Linked DNA regions of Homo sapiens: region 2 is linked to region 1. Evidence: promoter capture Hi-C in human tissues and cell types (Jung and others, 2019). All regions are on one chromosome and are shown on one strand. The core of a region is centred on a gene start or on the middle of the fragment in contact, and the rest is flanking DNA. Distances in the headings are between cores, read along the strand shown.

Evidence for each region. Contacts are between HindIII fragments. The study calls those that stand out against the background at their distance.
Region 2: a fragment that was not itself captured here is called in contact with the fragment with the promoter of OCM2 in region 1 in 1 of the 25 tissues and cell types used here (heart right ventricle).

The regions. Positions count from the first base shown.
Region 1 is chr7:97,988,946-97,993,583 of GRCh38, forward strand. It overlaps OCM2 (oncomodulin 2), which reads right to left and starts at 1,251. Exons shown (of 4, transcript NM_006188.4): 1 at 1,099-1,251. The coding sequence starts at 1,159. The HindIII fragment of the contact is 22,202 bases long and covers 1-4,638 here.
Region 2 is chr7:96,279,144-96,283,359 of GRCh38, forward strand. All of the region lies in intron 2 of SLC25A13 (solute carrier family 25 member 13), which reads right to left. It also overlaps the pseudogene RPL21P74. Among named protein-coding and RNA genes, the nearest start is that of SLC25A13, 41 kb to the right of the region's middle. The HindIII fragment of the contact is 5,403 bases long and covers 1-4,216 here.

The DNA of each region.
Region 1 (4,638 bases), core at 1-2,500:
TTTTGAGACAGAGTCTCACTCTGTCGCCAGGCTGGAGTGCAGTGGCGTGATCTCGGCTCACTGCAACCTCTGCCTCCCAGGTTCAACTGATTCTCCTGCCTCAGCCTCCCGAGTAGCTGGGATTACAGGCATGCACCCCCATGCCCAGCTCATTTTTGTATTTTTAATAGAGACAGGGTTTTGTCAGGCTGGCCAGGTTGGTCTTGAACTCCTGACCTCAAGTGATGCACCGGCCTTGGCCTCCCAAAGTGCTGGGATTACAGGTGTGAGCACCACACCTGGCCCTTCAGTGATTTCTTGCTTTCATGTTTAGTAGGTTTCTTTTGTCTTACAGAAGTGTAATCGTGTGCTCAGATCCCAGATCTCTATAATTTTAGTTATCTAATAAATAGTAGTTTTCTTCTCTGATTCCATGAATTTTCCAGCCAAGCTCTTATTTACTTATTTATTTATTTATTTATTTATTTATTTAGAGACAGAGTCTCACTCTGTCGTCCAGGCTGGAGTGCAGTGTAGCGATCATAGCTCACCACAGCCTCAACCTCCTGGGCTTGAGTGATCCTCCTACCTTAGTTTCCAGAGTAGCTGGGACCACAGGCACATGCCACCATGCCCCGCTAGTTTTTATTTTTATTGTTATGTTGTAGAGATGGAGTCTTGTTATGTTGCCCAGGCTGGTCTCAAACTCCTGGGCTCAAACAGTCCTCTCACCTTGGCCTCCGAAAAGTGTTGGGATTACGGATGTGAGCCACCATGCCTGGTCTACATTTTTTTTTTTTTTGTAGACAGAGTCTACAAAAAAGGCCGGGTTCAAGCAATTCTCAGCCTCAGCCTCCCGAGTAGCTGGGATTACAGGTGCCCACCACCACGCCTGGCTAATTTTTTTGTATTTTTATTAGAGATGGGGTTTCACCATCTTGGCCAGGCTGGTCTCAAACTCCTGACCTCGTGATCCACCCACCTCAGCCTCCCAAAGTGCTAGGATTACAGGCGTGAGCCACTGCGTCTGGCCGCCTGGCCTACATTTTGATTTTGTGTTGCCTCGCTGGAGGGGCAAAGCTGTGAGGAAATCCCACCCCCGCCCCACGTCCCCTCTACCTTGGCATTCCTGGAGCGCTGCTGCAATGTCATCAGCACTGAGCACGTCCGTGATGCTCATTTTCTACCTACTCACACAGAATAAACGAGAGGCGATAAGCCACAAACAGGAACGTGCACATCCAGGGGAAACACATCTTCCCAGGCCCACTGAAACTGTATGTGTGTCTAGATTTTTTTTTTTTTTTTTTTTGAGATGGAGTCTCACTCTGTCACCCAGGCTGGAGTGCAGTGGCACAATCTTGGCTCACTGCAACCTCCACCTCCTGGGCTCAAGTGATTCTCCTGCCTCAGCCTTCCGAGTAGCTGGGATTACAGGTGCGCACTACCAGGCCTGGCTGATTTTTGTGTTTTTAGTAGAGATGGGGTTTTGCCATGTTTGCCAGCCTGGTCTCGAGCTCCTGACCTCATGTGATCTGCCTGCCTTGGCCTCACAAACTGCTGGGATTACAGGCATAAGCCACCAAGCCAGGCCTGTCTAGAATTTTTAAAATGTGATAAGCATGGTTTTGTATTAAGTGACGGGACAGAATATCCAAATTAAAACCAGATACCAAAAAGACCCCAGCCCTTTTTGTCTCAGAGCCTTCTTTTGAATATATGCCAAAAATGAAAAAAAAAAACATGACCCAAAGAAGGATTCAATTGTTTTCTTATAAAAATTATACTGACATAATCAGTCATTTGCATAGGCAGCCGTAAACCATGTTACAAATGCACTGGCATTTTCCTACAGCAGTCCGAGAGATGCACTGTTGCAAATTCCACGTGGGAAAGGATACAGTTTGGGCTGCTTGCAGACATTCTGTGGAAGAAGACATGCTACCTGTCCTGAAAGGTGGGAAGCAGATGGATGAAAAGCCCATCTCCCAGAGATTAAAATCCTTCCAGATGTCAGAGCCATGGGAAAACAGGAGTCTAAGCACCTGAGCCTAATATGAATGCATGCAGTGAAGAAGAGTCTGGGGTCTGATGGGTCCACCAGTTACTCACCGTTTTAGGTTTTCCCCCAGGAAGAATCAGGAAAAAGAGTTGAAGGAGCAAAACAACAGATGTGCTTTTGCTACCTTACTGACCTACCTTATATAGGCTAGAAAAAGTGATAGTTACAACCTCTTAGATTTCCTTTTCAAGGATCAAGTGGATGCAGCTCAAATGTCTTGTCCTACTCAGGAAACCTCTTTTTTTTTTCTATTTATGTCTCAAGGGAATGTGGGTGGGAATAGCCAATTGTAAAAACAACAACAACAACAACAACCTCAACAAACCTTAACTAAGGTTTCAATTCTGCAAACGAACCCTGTTGGCAAAGTGTGGAGAAGGTTCTAGAGCCTGGTAAGCTGGAGATGGTGGCCTGAACTAAGACAAACACATACAGGGTGCTCTGTAAGCTGAAAAGCTCCCCAGATGTTAGCAGGTACCGTTGGAGGCAGGCCTGTTTTCAGCTTTGGGAACTATGGATGTGTAAGGCTGACCTCAATCTGGAGTTGAAGACTCAAAGCCATTGTCACCAAGTGCACACACAGGACTCGTCCGGCACAGGAGACAGGGCTAAGTGACGTGATTTTCCTACAAAACTCTTGACTTTTACGTTTCCCAGCTATACCATAAATTGCACACACTCAAAAGGCAAAAAGGAGGAAATCAAACCAGCATCCCCAACCCCCAAAACTAACAAGTTCAGAAACAAATACTCTGAGGCTGAGGCCAGGACTAGACACCTCAAGATTTTGTTTCTGTTGTGACAGGGTCTTGCTCTGTTGCCCCGACTGGAGTGCAGTGGTACAATCTCAGCTCATTGCAGCCTTGACCTCCAGGCTCAAGCGATCCTCCCACCTCAGTCTCCCGAGTAGCTGGTACTACAGGCACACACCACCATGCCTGGCTAATTTTTTTAATATACATATTTTTTGGAGAGACAGGGTTTTGCCATGTTGCCTAGGCTGGTCTTGAACTCCTGGGCTCGAGTAATTCTCCCACCTCAGCCTCCCAAAGTGCTGGGATTACATGTGTGAACCACCACTCCTGGCCTTTTTTTTTTTTTTAATTTTCAGCAAACATTTATTGAGGCTTTATATGGCCAGCACTGTGCTAGACTCTTCTTTTTAATTATTGGGTAAAAACCACATTCCATAAAATATATAATCTCAACCATTTTTAAGTGTATGTATAGTACAATATTGTTAACTCTTGGTGCATTATTGAATGAGAGATCTCTGTAATTTATTCAGCTGGAAAAACAGAAACTCTGTATCCATTGAGCTGCCACAACTCCCCTGTTCCCCCACCTCCCAGCTCCTGGTAAGCATCATTGTACTTTCTGCTTCTAAGAGTTTGACTACTGGCCGGGCACAGTGGCTCATGCCTGTAATCCCAGCACTTTGGGAGGCCGAGGCAGGCAAATCACAAGGTCAGGAGTTCGAGACCAGCCTGACCAACATGGTGAAACCCCATCTCTACTAAAAATGCAAAAATTAGCTGGGCATGGTAGCCTGTAATCCCAGCTACTTGGGAGGCTGTGGCAGGAGAATCACTTGAATCTGGGAGGCAGAGGTTGCAGTGAGCTGAGATTGCGCCACTACACTATAACCTGGGTGACAGAACGAGACTCCACCTCAAAAAAAAAAAAGAGTTTGACTGCTTTATCTAGGGACATCATATAAGTGGAATCATATAGTATTTGTATTTTTCAGACTGGCTTATTTCACTGAGTATAATGTCCTCAAGGTTCATCTGTGTTGTGGCATGTGTCAGGATCTCCTTTTTTTTTTTTTTTTTTTTTTGAGACGGAGTCTTGCTCTGTCACCCAGGCTGGAGTGCAGAGGCATGATCTCAGCTCACTACAACCTCCGCCTCCCGGGTTCAAGAAATTCTCCTGCCTTAGCCTCCCGAGTAGCTAGGATTACAGGCACATGCTACCACACCCGGCTAATTTTTGTATTTTTAGTAGAGATGGGGGTTTCACCATGTTGGCCAGGCTGGTCTCAAACTCCTGACCTCAAGTGATCCACCTGCCTTGGCCTCCCAAAGTGCTGGGATTACAGGTGCGAGCCGCCGCACCTGGCCTAGGATCTCCTTTTTAAAAGCTGGAGTCATGTTTTTTGTTTGTTTGTTTTTCATTTTTATTTTTATTTGTTTTTGAGACAGAGTTTTGCTCTTCGGGCTGGAGTGCAGTAGTGTGATCTCGGCTCACTGCAGCCTTGACCTCCTGGGTTCAGGCAATCCTCCCAGCTCAGCCTCCCAGGAGGCTGGGACTACAGGCGCACACCACCACACCTGGCTAATTTTTTGTATTTTTTTTGGTAGAAACGGGGGCCTCACGATGTTGCCCAGGCTGGTCTCAAACTCCTGGACTCAAGCGATCCACCCTGCTCGGCTTCCCAAAGTGCTGAGATTACAGGCGTAAGCCACTGTGCCCAGCCTGAAGTTTTTAAAAAGTGCAAAAATAGATCCCATGTTGCAATGAGAAACATACAGTGGCTTAGAAGTAGACAGTTCAGGCCGGGTGCAGTGGCTGATGCCTGTAATCCCAGCACTTTG
Region 2 (4,216 bases), core at 1,095-3,594, 1.7 Mb before region 1:
CTGCTCTCCGGAAAAGATTGTACCAATTTACACTCCCACCAACAGTGTGTGAACATGCCCTTTACTCACTTTGGTCTATTATATTTGTTGCAAATATTTTTCCAGTTTGATATTTTTATATAATTGAGTGTATAGAATTTTTTTCTCCTTTGAAATTTCTTCCATTACTTTTCTAAGCTTAGACACTAGCTGTATTAGTCTGTTCTTACACTGCTAATAAAGACATACCTGCGACTGGGTAATTTATAAATAAAAAGAGGTTTAATGGACTCACAGTTCCACATGGCTGGGAGGCCTCACAATCATGGTGGAAGGCGAATGAGGAGCAAAGTCACATCTTAACATGGCGGTAGGCAAGAGAGCTTGTGCAGGGGAACTCCCATTTATAAAACCATCAGATCTCATGAGACTTATTCACTACTACGAGAACAGTATGAGGGAAACCACCCCCATGACTCAATGATCTCCACCTGGCTCCACCCTTTAAATGTGGGGATTATTACAATTTAAGGTGAAATTTGGGTGGGGACACAGCCAAGCCATATCACCAGTCTTTCTTCATTTCAAGACTAAATATCAGAGAGTTTATCTGAGTTTTTTTAAAGTAGGTTTATCTTTTACCTTTAAGTTTTAGTACATTAGTACTTTATCTTTGTGTGTGATCTAAGGTAAGAATCCCCCAACTTTAATTTTTCCACTTAATCTCTTGGTTGTCCCACGAACACAAAGCAAATCATTCTCTCTTCCAGGTCTTTAGGATGCCATGTTTATCACATACTTAATTATCATATGGTCACCAGGGAAAGGCGTGACAAAATGGCTCCATCTGCAGTACCAGTTCTGATGAACTGGCAAAGGCTTCCTAGGGCCAACATGTATTCTGAGGCTGACCTACGCTCCATGGGAGAATGCTGGGATCGAATGACAGCTCTTGTCATCACTGCAGTCAGAGATGTTTCAGGACCATCCTTTTCAATTGTCTCGTCTACTCTTGCAAGATTACATGCTATAACTAGAGGGAAAGTTCTGTTAGGACAGAATTTTTTTTCTCTCATTTTTACTGCTGTGTCCTCAAATTCCCAGACTAGTACCTGGTAGATAGTGAAACATGTTCAAATAAATATTTTTTTAAAAGAATGAAAGGTTTAAAAAAGACATTGAATTATTTTACACTTGGAAATTTTTTTGGCCATGATCACTCCTTGATTTTCCACAAATGACCTTTAGAATCATTATCAAGTTGCTGCTCCCTAAAAAAATTCCACTGAAATGCAAAATAAAACAATGCAAGGCAGGGCACACTGACTCATGCCTGTCATCCCAGCACTTTGGGAAGCCAAGGTGGGCAGATCGCTTGAGCCCAGGAGTTCAAGACCAGCCTGGGCAAGATGGCGGAACTCCATCTCTACAAAAAATAAAAAATTAACCAGGTAGGGTAACGTGCACCTGTAGTCCCAGCTACTTGGGAGACTGAGGCAGGAGAATCGCTTGAGCACAAAAGATTGAGGCTGCAGTGAGCCATGTTTGCATCACTATACTCCAGCCTGGGCAACAAAGTGAGACCCTGTCTCAAAACATAAAACAAAAAGCCTACAATGCAATACCATGCCATACCCCCAAGATAACGAAAAAGAATAATAAGTGATGGCAAAAATGTGGAGCAAATGTTACTCTCACACACTGATGGTATGAGAATAAAGGAGTAAACCATTTTAGAAAAATGCTGGGCAGTATCTGCTATAGCTGAACATACAACCACAAGCCCACCAATTTCAATCAGAAGTATATCACCAACAGAAGTGTGCATATACACAAAAACTATGTGAAAATGCCCACAGCGGCATTATTTGTAGTATCCAAAAAACTAAAAATAACACAAATGTCAACCAATAGTAGGATACATTAATGGCTTGTGGTGAATTCACACAATGGAATACAACACAGCAATGAGAAAAAACTAACTCCAGCTGGGCACGGCATCTCACATCTGTAATCCCAGCACTTTGGGAAGCCAAGGCAGGTGGATCACCTAAGGTCAGGCGCTTGAGACCAGCCTGGCCAACATGGTGAAACCCCGTCTGTACTAAAAATACAAAAATTACCCAGGCATGGTGGCACAGGCCTGTAATCCCAGCTACTCAAGAGGCTGAGGCAGGAGAATCGCTTGAACCCGGGAGGCAGAAGTTGCAGTGAGCTGAGACCGCCCCATTGCACTCCAGCCTGGGCAACAAGTGCAAAACTCCATCTCAAAAAAAAAAAAAAAAAAGAATAAACTAACTCCAACTACATATGACAACAGACGAATCCTAAGGGTAAAAGAAAAGAAACATAAGAAAACCTAGCGTATAATTCCATTCACGCAAAGTGAAATAAACAGGCAAAACTTACATACAGTTAGTTTTAACATACAGTGACCAGAATTCAGACAACTGGTTACCCTTGGTGGGTGCTGATCAGAAGGGGCATCAGAGGGCCTCTGGGATGCTCGTTACATGGGCCTACTCACTTTCTGAGTATTCATGGCTGTACATTTGTGATGTATGCATTCAATTTATATTTCAACAGTTTACATTTTAGAAGTCTTTGAGAGATATTATCAGCTTCATTTTTTTAGATGCAATAAAGAAATCATTTCTTAAATATAAGAGCATGTTAATCTGGGCACAGAAATAGTTTTCTCCAGTTTTTAAAACAAGCTCATCACCACGGCTGGGCAGTCTGCTCTGTGATTTAAGTAAACATGTCAAAGGTTGCTCCTTAGGATTGATGGACAGAGGCAGACCATAATAAAAATATGTATGAGGGTAGTGATAAATGCAGCTCTGCTCTCCCTGCAGCAGTGAGCAGAGGGTCCCTATAGGGGGAACGGACTATATCCTTATATCCACCACATCTTTAAAATGTCATTAATCCTTCTTTGGGAATATTTTTCACTAGTGAGCTGAAGCCTTCCTCCCTTGCAATTTTCAGGAGTTTTATTATGATTAAACATACACCTGCAAAATGGGAAGAGTTTTAGGATTCCTCATGCAACCTTGTATAATACTTATTGTCATCACCAAGAAATACCACCATACTCAGTGAAGATGACAGCAAAGGAAACCAGAAGGAACCTATCACTACAAATGCCCATACCCCGAGGGCAGGGGTCCTATCTGGCCTGCTCACCATCAGTCACAGTAAATTGATAAAGGTTTGTAAGCTGTGAATGAGCCAGGGTAGAACCATAATCATCCAGCTACCCATTTTGTCATGAATCACTCATATCCTGGGACTGAAGGACAAATCCCCTACATTGTTTTCCAACCACTGAGAAGGTGCACACAACAGGTCACTGCATCTGCCCATCCTTTACTTTGATTCCCTGTTATAGGGATGGAACAAAATATAATTTAAGGATTTGCATCTGGATTGGGTATTTTATATTAGGGAATTATCATTAACTTTATTAGGTGCACAATGGTATTATGACTGTGTAGGAGATTGTTTTTATTATTTGAAGCTCTATGCTAAATTATTTAGGGTGAATTATAGTGATAGCTAAGTTATATTTATTAACATAAATCAGAAAAAAATGTATAAACTAACATGACAAGTATTACTTTAAATCAGATGGTGGTTATGTGGGTGTTTACTATTCTATTTTCTGTATGTCTGAAAATTGTCACAATAAAGTTAAAAACATATTTAAGAAACATAAATGGCCAATAAACATATTGCTCTATTTATTTAAAAATGAAAATTTTAAATAAGATACAATTTTTCAACCAACAGATTGGCATAAAGTCTTTTTTGTTGCTGCTGCAACAAAAACTCATAATAATCTGAGTTGATATAATGTAGGAAATGAACACTTCCGTGTTCCCACCCAAAATAAATATTGAAATAACCTTCATGAGAGGCAGTCTACCAAGGGGAATCACAAGCCTTAATATGTTCTAAACCCATTCTAACCCAATGGTGCCACTTCTAGGAATTTATCCTAAGAAAATAATGCTAGCTATATGCAAAAATGTAGGTACAATACTATCATTACAGTGCTGTCATGATAGTAAAGCACAGGAAACAACTAAATATTCAATAATTAAATAGTGCTTCAATAAGTTAGGGCAAAACAGAAACAGCCATATGTAGGAATATTATGCAGCATTAAAAATATTGTAGTAGGGTTCCTTTCAGCTGGAACCACCATCTTCCAGTAATTCACCAAAATGGG